Linked DNA regions of Homo sapiens: regions 2 and 3 are each linked to region 1. Evidence: promoter capture Hi-C in human tissues and cell types (Jung and others, 2019). All regions are on one chromosome and are shown on one strand. Each heading gives the region's core, a stretch centred on a gene start or on the middle of the fragment in contact. The rest is flanking DNA. Distances are from core to core; before and after follow the strand shown. Region 1 holds the start of ACTN2 (actinin alpha 2). Region 2 has its middle 36 kb from the start of HEATR1. Region 3 overlaps ACTN2 (actinin alpha 2).

Region 1 (4,670 bases), core at 1,745-4,244:
AGTACTCTGATGCTTTGTGGATTATAAGGTTTTCCACCCTGGCTGATGGAAACAGGAACTATTCCTGGCCCGTTATGAATTTAAGAATCATTCCTTCTATTCCTTTCGGGACCTTCTTTCCTTGGCCTCAGGCAGTTTCCTCTCATGTATTCACTGATCAGATTCCAGGGAACAGCAAATCTCCAGGATTCTCTCTCTTTGCAGCTCCATTTTCTGCTGTAATTGGCCTTGCAAATTCTAATGTTTGGTCTCTCTGAACTCTCAGTTTATGGAGACCAGTAAGCTGTGCCTGGGTACCTCTTTGTTGCATTGCATCTTGAAAGTTTTCTCCAGACTGTAAGCTGGGGCAATTGCAGTACTCACATCATTTATTTTCTGCCTCTGAGGGTTCATTGTCCCTCTTTGCCTGATGACTAATGTCTTGAAAACCATTGTTTTATGTGTTTTTTTCCCCAGGCTTTAGTTGTTTCAGGCAGGATGGTAAATCTGGCGCTGTTTTTTCCATCTCATGAAGTCCCCACGTTAATTTTTGAAAACTAAGTTGAACGATGTAGCACTTTTTGTAATTGTACATCCAATTTCTTTTCTTTTCTTTCTTTCTTTTTTTATTTTTTTTTGAGATGGAATTTTGCTCTTGTCGCCCAGGCTGGAGTACAGTGGCGCAATTTCTGCTCACTGCAACCTCCACCTCCTGAGTTCAAGCGATTCTCCTGCCTCAGCCTCCTGAGTAGCTGGGATTACAGGTGCATGCCACCACAGCCAGCTAATTTTTTTATTTTTATTTTTTTTAGTAGAGATGGGGTTTCATCATGTTGGCCAGGCTGGTCTTGAACTCCCAACCTCAGGTGATCTACCCACCTCGGCCTCCCAAAGTGTTGGGATTACAGGCCTGAGCCACTGTGCCCGGCCCAGTTTCTAATAGGTAAAATTTATTGATCCACTTGTTTCAAGAGTATGATTTTAATCCAAAATATAAACTCTAAATTTTAAATTTAAATCCAAGTAAATTAGCTCAGTCACTATTTCCAGGGATACTACTTCTCTCAACAAATGAGCACCACTGTGCGGTGGACACGCCTGTAGTTGCTGGGGTCTACAACTGTGGACGAGACAAAATCCCTGCGTTTGAGGAATTTACATCCTAGTGAGAATGTTTTTGAAAATGTTAATGTGGCGGGGCGTGGTGGCTCACACCTGTAATCCCCACTTTTGAAGGCTGAGGCAGGTGGATCACCTGAGGTTGGGAGTTCGAGACCAGCCTAACCAACATGGAAAAACCCCGTCTCTACTAAAAATACAAAATTAGCCGGGTGTGGTGGCACATGCCTGTAATCCCAGCTACTCCGGAGGCTGAGGCAGGAGAATCGCTTGAACCGGAGAGGTGGACGTTGCGGTGAGCCGAGATCGTGCTCTTGCACTCCAGCCTGGGCAACAAGAGTGAAGCTCCATCTCAAAACAAAACAAAACAAAACAAAGTTAATGCAACCTGTTTGCTAATTGTTATCTTTCTGCATAAAGCCCCAAACAGTAACGGTGAGTGATGTAAAAATTCTAAGGAACAATGATAAATCCAGACAAACTCAACTTGAAACATGTCCACAAATTAGTAGCCCTGAATCACAAAAAATTCTGTAGCATCTGTGGGCAACGTTTATTCAATTGAGATATAAACTGAATTGCAGGCAGGCATCCCATCAGCTCGTCTGGTGCCTAAGGCAACCTCTGGTTTACAGTAGTTGCTTAATACATATTTGATTTAAAAATTTCAGCCTACTTGTCCCAAGGGTCCTCATTTTGCTTCCTGCGGCAGCATAACTGATAGGGAACAGCTAGCCAGCACTAGGGGGATGAAAAGGCGTTAAGTGCAACCCACAGGGCGACATGGAAATATAACACGAAGCTGGCCGCTTGCCCTTCATTGTCAGCTCTCTTAAATTTATGCCCGGTAGGTGAGAGCTGACACTTCCTGCCTTTGGTTTGGTTCCTAACATTTTAATAGGATGGATCCAAATCCTGTGCCTTGATTTCCCCAGGTGAGGGTGAGGAGGAGAGAAAGAAGAGGGGGGTTCTGTAGCTTTTAAACTTTACTCCTTAGGGGCCTGTATGTATGTATGTGTGTGTGTGTGTGAGAGGGAGGAAGAGAAACAGAGAGAGAGAAGAGAGAGACAGAGATGAGAGAGGTATGAGAGACACAGGAGAGAGAGACAGATGAGAGAGAGAAAGAGAGACACGACAGAGAGAGAGAGACGAGAGAGAGAGAGACACGGGAGAGAGAGACAGAGGAGAGAAGAGGAGAGGAGAGAGACACGAGAGACAGATGAGAGACAGTGAGACACGAGAGAGAGAGAGAGATGAGAGGAGAGAGAGACATGTGAGAGAGACACAGGAGAGACAGAGATGAGAGAGAGATATGAGAGAGATCTATGAGAGAGAGACACTGGAGAAAGAGGGACAGAGATGAGAGAGAGACAGACGAGAGACAGACACAAGAGAGAGGGACCGATGAGCGGAAAGAGAGGCACGAGAGAGAGATGAGAGAGAGAGAAGAGGGGTCTCCAATGAATATGTGGGAATATATGGAAAACGCGAATATCCAAATGATATTTGGAAAACTTGGCTGTGTTGGGGTGGTCAGGGACCCAGCCTCTTAGGTGTCCCTCCCCTGGCTCGCGATCACCCACCCGGGACACCGACGGACCCCGCGCCGCTAACCAGCCGCTCTCAGAGCGTGGGTGGCAGGCGTGGCTCTGCTCGGGGCCGGCCGCTCCCCTCACGTTCCCGGAGGCCTCGGCGGAAGGCGTGCAGGCGGCCTCTGGGCGGCGGCTGCAGGGGAGACAGTGGAGGGGCCCGGCGCCCTTGTCCGCCCGCACGTGCTCGGGGCGGGGCGGCTGGGGCCCGACGGGCGGGGCCGGGGGCGGTGGCGGCGGGGGCGTGGCCGGGCGGCCACGTGACGGGCGGCGCGGCTATTAAGCCGCGCGGCAGCTGCTCGCAGCCGGAGCTGGTGCTTCGCCCGAGACCCAGCGCCCAGGCGTGTCGCCCCGAGAGGAGCCGCGCGAAGGTCACCCCGCGCCCGCCGCCCGCCGCCCGCCGCCTCCGTGGGTCCGTTTGCCAGTCAGCCCGTGCGTCCGAGCCCCTCGCGCCCCGCCGCAGCCCCGGCCAACCGAGCGCCATGAACCAGATAGAGCCCGGCGTGCAGTACAACTACGTGTACGACGAGGATGAGTACATGATCCAGGAGGAGGAGTGGGACCGCGACCTGCTCCTGGACCCAGCCTGGGAGAAGCAGCAGAGGAAGGTCAGCAGGGGCCCGCGGGCCGCCCGCGCGTGGTGGGGCCGGGTCCCCCGCGGGGCTCCCGTGCGCGTGGCCGCGTGGCCTGGCGACTGGCGAGAGGGCGCTTTGTGGAGGTGCTGTGCTGTCCTGTGCCCTCGCAGCCCCGGGGGCCCCTTAGGAAAGAGGACACGTCCGGGGACAGGCAGGACACTGGGCGTCGTGTGTGTGCGCGCGCGCTAGCAGCATCGGAGGTACAGATGTGGTTCTGTTCCTCACACCAACCCGCGTTAGACCAGATCTGAAGGGGTCTCTGGTCTGCTCCTGACCCCTTGAGTCTGTGACCTTGGCCCCCGAGTTATACTCTCCTGGCCCGCTTGTGTCCATTTACCCCAGCCTCTCTCTTCCCCATTGAAAGAAGCAAAAGAACATCAGCTTCATTGCAATTTCCACCGGGCTGCCCCTAGAGTCATGGAAAGTCATTTATTCAATCTTTTGGGTTCCTTGGAGAGGGATGTTGTATGAACACTAGACATTTACCGATAGTGACAATTATTTCACACTCTATTTATAATTCATTGAGGTAAGCACACAGGGACGAAGGAGTCAGCCAGCTTCTAAAAGCTCCCTCCCCATTTTGATTGGCGTTCTCTGGGGGCCCAGTGGAACATTCCACTTTTTCAAGGTTTCCTCTTGATCCTCTTGGCTGGAATAAATAGGGAATGCTCACCAGGAGGCTTAATCCCGCCTCTTACTTGACTAGGCAGGGAGCCTGGTTGGGTCAGACATGACAACAGAGACCTGCCAACCCAACCTTAAGATAACGGGGTTATGGCAAAAGCCAAACGCTCTGAACTTTTTTCCGCCTATTTTTCTGGGCGTGGGGCAAGATAGATTTCCCTTCTAAGGACCTGCTTTAGGTGGATAGCCTGTGGTGACCATAGTGTGTATGGGAATCTCTGTATAATGGGTACTGTAGCTGATTGTGCGATAGTATTTGGTGAATAGGGGTATGATGGTGGAGAACACACATCCCAAACTCCTCTCGCAGCAAACAGCGTTAGCTGGAAGGAGAGATGATTATCAAATAACCAAGCACTATTTTTATATCAGGATGTCTCTTGTCTACCCTCTCTCCTAAAATACCATTTACTATTATTATTTTAAAGCTCTAATTTAGCTACATTTCAGTCTCTCCCCGAGTTTCTTAAGGCTTTTACCATCCCTACCTTTCTTAGAAAATGGGAGTAATAAATAGAAAAAAACAAAACTTCAAGCCGTCTACTATTGTTTAAAGGACTGATTGTGAAGGAAGTACGAGGCATGAGGATTACTAATGTGTCATCTGGACCAGCTGATGCATCATCCATCAGCACGAAGTTAAAAAGTGACTTTAATTTTT
Region 2 (4,470 bases), core at 1,339-3,838, 46 kb before region 1:
CACCCAGGCTGGATTTGGGAGGCCAAGGTGGGCAGATCACCTGAGGTCAGGAGTTCAAGACAAGCCTGGCCAACATGGTGAAACCCTGTCTCTACTAAAAATACAAAATTAGCTGGGCATGGTGGTGCGTGCCTGTAATCTCAGCTACTTGGGAGGCTGAGGCTGGAGAATAGCTTGAACCCGGGAGGCAGAGGTTGTAATGAGTCAAGATCTCGCCACTGCTCTCCAGCCTGGGTGACAAGAGTGAAACTCTGTCTCAATAAATAAATAAGTAAAAATAAAAAATTAAGCAAAAAAAAAAAGAAAGAAAAAAAAGAAAAAAAAAGTTCTGGAATCCTGCCCCTGCTTTCAGAATTCTGGGGGAAAATGTTCTAGAAGGGTATTCCTGTACAACCTCCATAAAAATAGCCCTGCTCACATGTATGTAGCTCATTCATCCATGCATCACCTACATAATGAATGGAACCATGGCAGCTACTGTGAGACAGGCAGGTGTATAAACATACATTTATATGTGTACACATAAAATGACTCATCACATATATGTCCTTGCCTACTAGCTTATAATTCTTTTAGGGCAGATTCAATGTTGGTTTTATCTTTTTATATCTGTCTGGTTGTAGTTCAGTGCCTTGATCATGGTAAGTATTAAATTGATGTTTGTTGGCTGATGTCTGGTCTGCTGGGGTCGCAAATTTTCAAGATGCACGCAGAGGTAATGGGGTTGGACAAGTTTTGCTAAAACATATTCATCTTTTAAACGCATAAACTGTATTCTCTTCCAGAGCACATTTCCAACATCAAATATTGAAGACGTCTACACACTTGATTTTATTTTTTCCATGACAGATAGGCTCATTAGATGGGACACTTCAGGCCAAGAATGACATACGACTTCATAACATTCTCTGTCCGTGATGTTGTCATAAGCACTTAGCCCCAGTTCATTTAGCTTATATAGTACTGGCCGCCAACATCATCTGAGGTTACAATATTGTTCAGGCGTCTCACGTCATCACTTTCCATTCCCTCTAGCTCCGAGAGTCTCATTTTAGCCGTGGGGATCACGTGGCATGGCATGTCTATAATGTCACTTGTAGAGATACCGTTACCGGTTTGCCCCTACTGTCCAGTGACCCCACTCCAAAAGCAAGCATCACGCGCTGTGTGTGCGGTTCAGAATAAGAGGATCCAAGCAGAGGGCTTTGCCTGCAGTAAATGTTTCAGACAGATGTGAACAAGGCAGTTTCTCCGTGTTCACTGACAAATTTGGCCATAATACCCATGTCACTATAACGCACATCACATTTTCCTGAGAGTAAGTGATAATAGAATAAAAATCCCCGCTCTGAATATCAAGAGCTTCAATGATCCCACAAATCCCCCTGCAATTTTATCCAGACTGCCATCCCAGCAGTGGAAGCAGGGATTTTAGAAACCCATTTTTCTACCTAGGAACATCACTTTAGGACAATCATCTTTATTTCACTGCTATTCAGTTCCAGACCCATAAACATAAAGAGGGAAATACAGAAATAGAATCAGAAGGGCAGGGGAAGAAAAGAGTGGAACAAAATACTTTTTAAGAGCTGCATGGACTTAATGGAATTTCCTTTCTATATAATCCTCAGGATCATTAAAAATAGGTCCTGACTGCCTTTTTTTGGTCCTGCAAAAGTTCTAGGTCTTGTACCCCTTCTAACATAGGCACCAGGCTGACGGGTAGGAGTGCTTAGAGCCGGGGTCCCTCGCAGAGCAGCTGCACATTAGCTGGCATTTGCCAGTCCTCTGTGAGTCGGTTGCCAGGTTTCTAGAGTGTTAGAATAGTAAACAGTTGTTTCTCAGAAACAGAGAGAGGGTTATCCACAACCTCACATGCTAAATTTAAATTTAATAAAGCTCTTTCCTAACCATTGAGATCAGTGATTTTTAACCAGGGTGGGGGTGAGGAGAGATCTATCTCCAAGGAGTTTGGGGAAGGAACCAGCATGTGGAGTTCAAAAAAAGTCCCCGAGTGATTCTGTATCCCACCTCCAAATCCCAATGTCTCATCAGAGAGTCGCTGGCACAGAGCTGGGATGCTGACGGAGGCCCCTCCAGCTTTTTCTGCAATTTGCCCGCAGTGCTCCTGACATTTCCAAAAGGGAGCACTCAGGGAAGATCACACAGAGGAGATGTCAGAAGTCCTCGGCTGCCCTCCTTGATGTTGCCCTGTGAGCTTTCTCACAGCTATCAGGGGGCAGCTAAAGAGACAGAAGAGTCTAATGAGGATGAGGTGGGTATAATTAAATGTTGACAACAGTTGACGGAGAGTCTTAAGTTTGATCCTTGGAGCTGCGGGAGATTTAGAGTGGGAATTTGGATGTCATCAGTCGTGTCTTCTACAGTCCCTGAAGAGGCTGGGTATGGTAGGTCATGCCTGTAATCGCAGCAGTTTGGGAGCCAAGGCGGGTGGATCACCTGAGGTCAGGAGTTCGAGACCAGCCTGGCCAACATGAGAAAACCCTGTCTTTCCTCAAAATACAAAAAATTGGCCAGGTGTGGTGGTGGGTGCCTGTAATCCCAGCAGTTTGGGAGGCTGAGGTAGGAGAATTGCTTGAACCCGGAAGGCGGAGGTTGCAGTGAGCCTAGATTGGGTCATTGCACTTCAGCCTAGGCGACAGAGCAAGACTCTGTCTCAAAATCAAATCAAATCGAATCAAATCCCTGAAGAACAGGGATGGCTGCACAGACAAACAGCAATGAAGTATGGCAATGAAGGCTGAAGATGGAAGTAGATGCGTCCTTCCACACAATCCCCTGCTTTCATGTTATGAGCTTGGGAGGGAGGCTTCCTTTTTGCAAAAGTGGGAAAGCACAGATGTCATTTGTTTGAGCCATGACTGAAAAGACCCTTTGACCTTTGAAACCAAAATGTGTATAAGGGCTGGGTGTGGTGGCTCATACCTGTAATCCTAGCACTTTGGGAGGCTGAGGCAGGAGGATCGCTTGAGCTCGGGATCTCAAGACCAGCTTGAGCAACATAGTGAGAACCTGTCTCTACAAAAAATAAAATAAAATAAAATTAGCTGGATGTGGTGGCACACACCTGTAGTCCCAGATATTCAGGAGGTTGAGGTAGGAGGATAGCTTCAGCCAGGGAAGTCAAGGCTGCAACGAGCCGTGATCACGCCACTGCACTCCAGCCTGGGCAAAAGAGCAAGACTCTGTCTTCAAAAAAAAAAAATGTGTATAAGGAAACCAAAAACAAGCTGGTGTTTTAAAAATTGCTGGTAATTTTTTGTTTGGTAAGCCATAAAGAATTGCACATGCATAACTGTGGGGAAGACACTTTCCTAGTTCTGAAACTAACTCTTGAATTGGACATTTAGTTATGAAATTAAGGCTGGGTGCGGTGGCTCACGCCTGTAATCCCAGCACTTTGGGAGGCCGAGGCGGGTGGATCACAAGGTCAGGAGTTCGAGACCAGCATGGCCAATATGGTGAAACCCCGTATCTACTAAAAATACAAAATTAGCCGGGTGTGGTGGTGTATGCCTGTAGTCCCAGCTGCTCGGGAGGCTGAGGCAGGAGAATCGCTTGAACCTGGGAGGCGGAGGTTGCAGTGAGCCAAGATGGCACCACTGCACTCCAGCCTGGGTGACAGAGCAAGACTCCGTCTCAAAAAAAAAAAAAAAAAAAAAAAAAGAAATTAAAAGGGAAATCCCAAAATGGGAAATGGGGACCTGTGTGGCAGACATTCTTGGATGGCTTCCCAACAAATGGTCATATCTGTACTATAGGAGGTCTCAAAGTGGTCCTGAGGCCTTTTAGGTGGTTTCCAAGGTCAGAACCACTTTTATAATAATACTAAGACACTATTTGCCTTTGCCCCCTCATCCTGCCATGAGTCTACAGTTAAGTGTTCCTCATGCTACATGACATTCAGTAATAAAACAGATTGCAGGAGCAGACAGGAGAATCCAGGTTTCTTCCATTAAGACGGACAATAAAGAGATGTGCAAAAATGTAAAACAATGCTATGGTACCATTAATTTCTTTGGAAAATAGAGTTATGTTTCATAAAAATGCATTCTTTATGTGAAATGTATGTTCACATGTCATGCGTTTGTTGTTCATTTCAAATTAGTATACTAATTTTTAAATGCCCCAGTTTTAATTTCTAATATGGTAAACATTGATAGATATAATGCACATTAAAAAAAAAAACCTTTTATAGCTGGGTGCCGTGGCTCATGCCTGTAATCCCAGCACTTTGGGAGGCCAAGGCGGGCAGATCACCTGAGGTCAGGGGTTCGAGACCAGCCTGGCCAACATGGTGAAACCCCATCTCTACTAAAAACACAAAAATTAACTGGGCTTGGTGGTGGGCTCCCATAGTCCCAGCTGCTTGGGAGGCTGAGGCAGGAGAATCGCTTGAACCCTGGAGGTGGAGGTTGCAGTGAGCCGAGATCGTGCCACTGCATACCA
Region 3 (4,607 bases), core at 1,873-4,372, 53 kb after region 1:
GAGAGTTCAGGTGGACATTCAGGGACCCAAGATCTTGGTTTCCTGGACCCAAATATTTCTGTGACTAACTTGCTGGATGTTTACCGAGTTTGTGTTTTAGACTAATGCTCTCTCCCCGTTATTCCCTACAGTCTAATCAGCCTGCCGTGTAAGTCTGTGTGAAAACTGTAACAAAGGTGTGAAATGATTCATAGTACGCATAAGCCATGCCTTCAGTCTGACCGCACCCTAAGCTAGACTCTGCACCGTCTACAGCACGCCACCCTCCTCGTCCCCTCTCATCACCCACCTCGTTCCATGCTGTGTGTGCGCATTCCCGTCGACAGAGCCGTCCTGTTTACCTATTGTGTTTTACAGGCCGAGACAGCGGCTAACAGGATATGTAAGGTTCTTGCTGTGAATCAAGAGAATGAGAGGCTGATGGAAGAATATGAGAGGCTAGCGAGTGAGGTAAAGGAAACTGGTGACCTGCAGTTCTGTCCATCCTCACGCAGGGGCTGAGGCACAGAGGGTGAAAAAATACTCCGTGGGGGCATATATATATATATATATATTTTGCATTTTTCATCTCAGATAGGATGAAAGTAGGAAAATACACTTGATCTCTGAGGTTGTTCCTATTGTAGTAACCTAACTTTTGGCAAAAACATAATCCCCAGTGGTCTTTCCAACGATCCCAAAGCAGAAAGGTATAGTTTGCATGTCTGAAGATAGGAGAATGCGATTCTCTGCTCAGCTCTGCACCTCCAGGGTTGGACACCCCTAGACGACCTTGGGTTACTTGTTTTTTTTTTTTCCTGTTCACTGGCTACCAACATCACATAGGATGCACTCCATATGCAAAAGCCTCACTCCACATAGGGACCCAGTGTCAAAGGAACTGGCCCAGCCTGGTGTGCGGAGCTGGCTCGGGCTCGTGTGTCTGTATAAATACCCAGAGGAAATCTGGGGAAGACAGAGCCCTCCCTGCAGAATATTTGAGCATGAGTTTCTGTGGTGCCTTTCCAGAGCTCTTCAGCTAGACTCTTGGTTAGGACAGCAGTTTCCAGGTTGTTTTTCTTTTCGTTCTTGTTATAGCATACGTAGCGACTACGCAGTATCCTCGCTGCATCTGCACTGTTTTCCCAAATACAAGCATGGGCTGCATGAGGCCCCCAGCCACCTCCTCTCTAAATTGGACTCAAGTACAGTGACACATACTTCAGACCAAATAATTTTTGCCAAGCCTTATTTTTTGCTTTGTTTTGTTTTGTTTTGTTTTCTATGACAGAGTCTTGCTCTCTGGCCCAGGCTGGAGTGCAGTGGGGCAGTCCTGGCGCACTGCAACCTCCGCCCCCAGGGTTCAAGCAATTGTCCTGCCTCAGCCTCCCAAGTAGCTGGGATTACAGGCGTGCACCACCACACCCAGCTAATTTTGTATTTTTAGTAGAGATGGAGTTTCACCGTGGTAGCCTGGCTGGCCTTGAACTCCTGACCTCAGGTGATCCACCCGCCTTGGCCTCCCAAAGTGCCGGGATTATTGGCGTGAGCCACCGCACCTGGCCTTCTTTTTAATTTAGCTGATATTTGGTCTTTATTGGGAAAAGTATCAGGACATTTGGAATAAATGTTCCAATAAATAGTAGTGTAACTTTATGATACTGAGTTCATATCTTCATACTGCTGCTATAGAAAAATTAAGCTTGATGGCATTGTTGAATGGCAGTGACAGGGTTGCCAGACATGAAGCATGGCCAGTACTGAAGGCCAGAGGATCCTTAGGAATTCAATTCTTCCTTTTCTTACTGGGTCCTTCATTTATCCTCCTAAAACCCTTAGACTCTAGGTATATCACCATTTAAACTATTTTTCATTCGAATCTGCTGTCATTTTCCAAGTGCTCAGTAGGCATAAGTGTAAATGATGGGGTTTTCAGCAAGTCATTTCTAAGACCTAGGTAGTAATTCAAGAGGTGCATGTGTATTTTGTCCTTAGGGATTCACTACCACGTTCGCTTTTATCATGCAGATTTACTTAAAAGCTAGACGTCAAAATACACTTTGGCATTGAGTTAGGCCCAGGCTTACAATACAGTTGTGTAGTAAGTAATCTAATTAGATTTGAGCTTATTTTTTAAAAACACATTTTAAGTGAAATCCAGTTCTTTGCTGAATTTATTACACTACAGTTCTGCCATGTCAAGTATTTTGGGGTTGTTTTGTTTTGTTTTTTGTTTTTTTAATTTGAAAGCTCCATCCAGCATTTGTCTGCTAATGTCTGGTCCCTGAGTTTCTTGTAAACGTCACATTTTTGTAAGACACGACTTTACGTGCTCACTTTAAGTTTTCGACCTGTGTTTGGTATCGTTGGGGTGATCACTCGCGGCCATGGGCGGACACTGAACATCTCGTTCATGCCTCTGTGCGTAGAGGTACCACATCTCAGTGATTTTAGGAACATTCATCCTTTACAAATTATTGGATGCCTCATTTTTTTTTTTTAACTGGGGGAGGGGGCTTGCTGGTGTCTTCAGCAGTATTTTTGTGTTTGCGGAGCAGCTTTTGGAATGGATTCGTCGCACGATCCCCTGGCTGGAGAACCGGACTCCCGAGAAGACCATGCAAGCCATGCAGAAGAAGCTGGAGGACTTCCGGGATTACCGCCGGAAGCACAAGCCACCCAAGGTGCAGGAGAAATGCCAGCTGGAGATCAACTTCAACACGCTGCAGACCAAGCTGCGGATCAGCAACCGTCCTGCCTTCATGCCCTCCGAGGGCAAGATGGTGTCGGTGAGTAGCAAGCGCCAAGCCCTCCTGGCGCCACGGGAAGCCCTCCTTCTAGCCTAAAGGCGTTTGACCTGGGTCAGGAGGAGGCATTGACTTCTTGAATCTTTTTAGTTGTGTGAATATCATTTTGGCCCTGTAACCACTTTGTTCTTAATACTTTTCTCCCAACCATCATGTACTTCTTGAATCCAGCTGCCACTGGGGTACAGTGTCCCACAAAGAGCAGACCTTTAGGAAACGCTCGATGAACAGCCTCTTTCTCTCGTCCCTCCTCATGGCCTTGGCCCCTCATGTCCACCAGCATCTAGATCATGTGTCTTCTGTTCCCTGCTGTTACAAGCTACCCATCTCACCTTCGCAAAGTCTGAGTCCTCCATTTATCTCCCTCTCTTCCACATTGTCACTTTCTCCCTCTCCACCGAATCATGCACACCAGCATACAAAAGTGCTGTCAAATCTGCCAGTCACAAGCTAAAACCAAGGACTCCACATCTCCCACGAGCAACTTCTTGGCTCCCCTTCACAGCAAAACATCTAGAAGGAGTTCTTTGTGGTACCTATTTCCGCTCCCTCCCCACTCACTCACTCACTTTTTTTTTTTGGAGACGGAGTCTCACTCTGTCACCCAGGCTGCAGTGCAGTGGCGTGATCTCAGCTCACTGCAAGCTCCGCCTCCCGGGTTCAAGCAATTCTCCTGCCTCAGCCTCCTGAGTAGCTGGGATTACAGGTGCCCGCCACCACGCCCGGCTAATTTTTGTATTTTTAGTAGAGAAGGGGTTTCACCATGTTGGTCAGGCTGGTCTTGAACTCCTGACCTCAGGTGATCCGCCCGCCTCGGCCTCCCAAAGTGCTGGGATGACAGGCGTGAGCCACCACGCCCAGCCCCAACTCACTCACTTCTCTTACCCTTCAACTTGCAGTAAACTGGCTTCTGTCCCTGCTTCCACCAAGAATGTTCTTGCCAAAGTCAATGGCATTCATGTTGTCAGAGCAAGTCATTTTTATTTTTATTTTTATTTTTGAGACAGAGTCTCACTTTGTTGCCCAGGCTGGAGTGCAGTGGCACGATCTCGGCTCACTGCAACCTCTGCCTCCCGAGTTCAAGCAATTCTCCTGCCTCAGCTTCCCAGGTAGCTGGGATTACTGGTGCCCGCCACCACGGCCAGCTAATTTTTGTAATTTTAGTAGAGGTGGGGTTTCACCATATTGGCCAGGCTGGTCTCGAACTCCTGACCTTGTGATCCACCCACCTCGGCCTCCCAAAGTGCTGGGATCATTTTTATTTTTACATTCTCAGTTTTTTTGGCCCAGCTGCCCATTTCCCCATTCTTGAAGTTCTTCCTACTTTGGCCCTCCTGTTTCTTCCTCCTTCACCAGCGAGGCCTTCTCCATCTCTGTTCAAGGCCTTGCCTCCTCCCTCTACCTGTAGATGTTGGTGATTCTCAGGCTTGGTGCTGAGCCCTCTTCATCTTTATACCCTCCAGGTGATCTCATCCAGGCCCATGGCTTGTTTTTTCTTTTTCCTTTTTTTTAAAAACATGGTCATGCTCTGTCACCCAGATTGGAGTGCAGTGGCACAATCACAGCTCACTGCAGCCTTAATCTCCTGGGCTCAAGTGATCCTCCCACCTCAACATCCTGAGTAGCTGGGACTACACGCACATCCCACCATGCCTGGCTAATTATTTCTTTGCAGAGATGGGGTCTTGCTGTGTTGCCAGGGGCGGCCCAAACTCCTGGGCTCAAGCGATCCTCCCACCTCAGCCTCCCAAAGTGCTGGGATTATAGGCATGAGCGAGCATGCCTGGGCGGGCCCATGGTTTTAATTGCCACCTAAATGCC

What was found. Contacts are between HindIII fragments. The study calls those that stand out against the background at their distance.
Region 2: a contact is called between a fragment that was not itself captured here and the fragment with the promoter of ACTN2 in region 1, in 1 of the 25 tissues and cell types used here (psoas muscle).
Region 3: a fragment that was not itself captured here is called in contact with the fragment with the promoter of ACTN2 in region 1 in 1 of the 25 tissues and cell types used here (pancreas).

What each region holds. Positions count from the first base shown.
Region 1 is chr1:236,683,505-236,688,174 of GRCh38, forward strand. ACTN2 (actinin alpha 2) reads left to right here and starts at 2,995. Exons shown (of 21, transcript NM_001103.4): 1 at 2,995-3,295. The coding sequence starts at 3,170. RefSeq lists a silencer at 2,851-2,940 and an enhancer at 4,579-4,670. The HindIII fragment of the contact is 16,282 bases long and covers 1-4,670 here.
Region 2 is chr1:236,638,103-236,642,572 of GRCh38, forward strand. No RefSeq gene overlaps it. Among named protein-coding and RNA genes, the nearest start is that of HEATR1, 36 kb to the left of the region's middle. RefSeq lists an enhancer at 1,429-1,986. The HindIII fragment of the contact is 7,227 bases long and covers 1-4,470 here.
Region 3 is chr1:236,736,765-236,741,371 of GRCh38, forward strand. ACTN2 (actinin alpha 2) reads left to right here. Exons shown (of 21, transcript NM_001103.4): 9 at 358-450; 10 at 2,538-2,768. Among named protein-coding and RNA genes, the nearest start is that of ACTN2, 53 kb to the left of the region's middle. The HindIII fragment of the contact is 4,886 bases long and covers 680-4,607 here.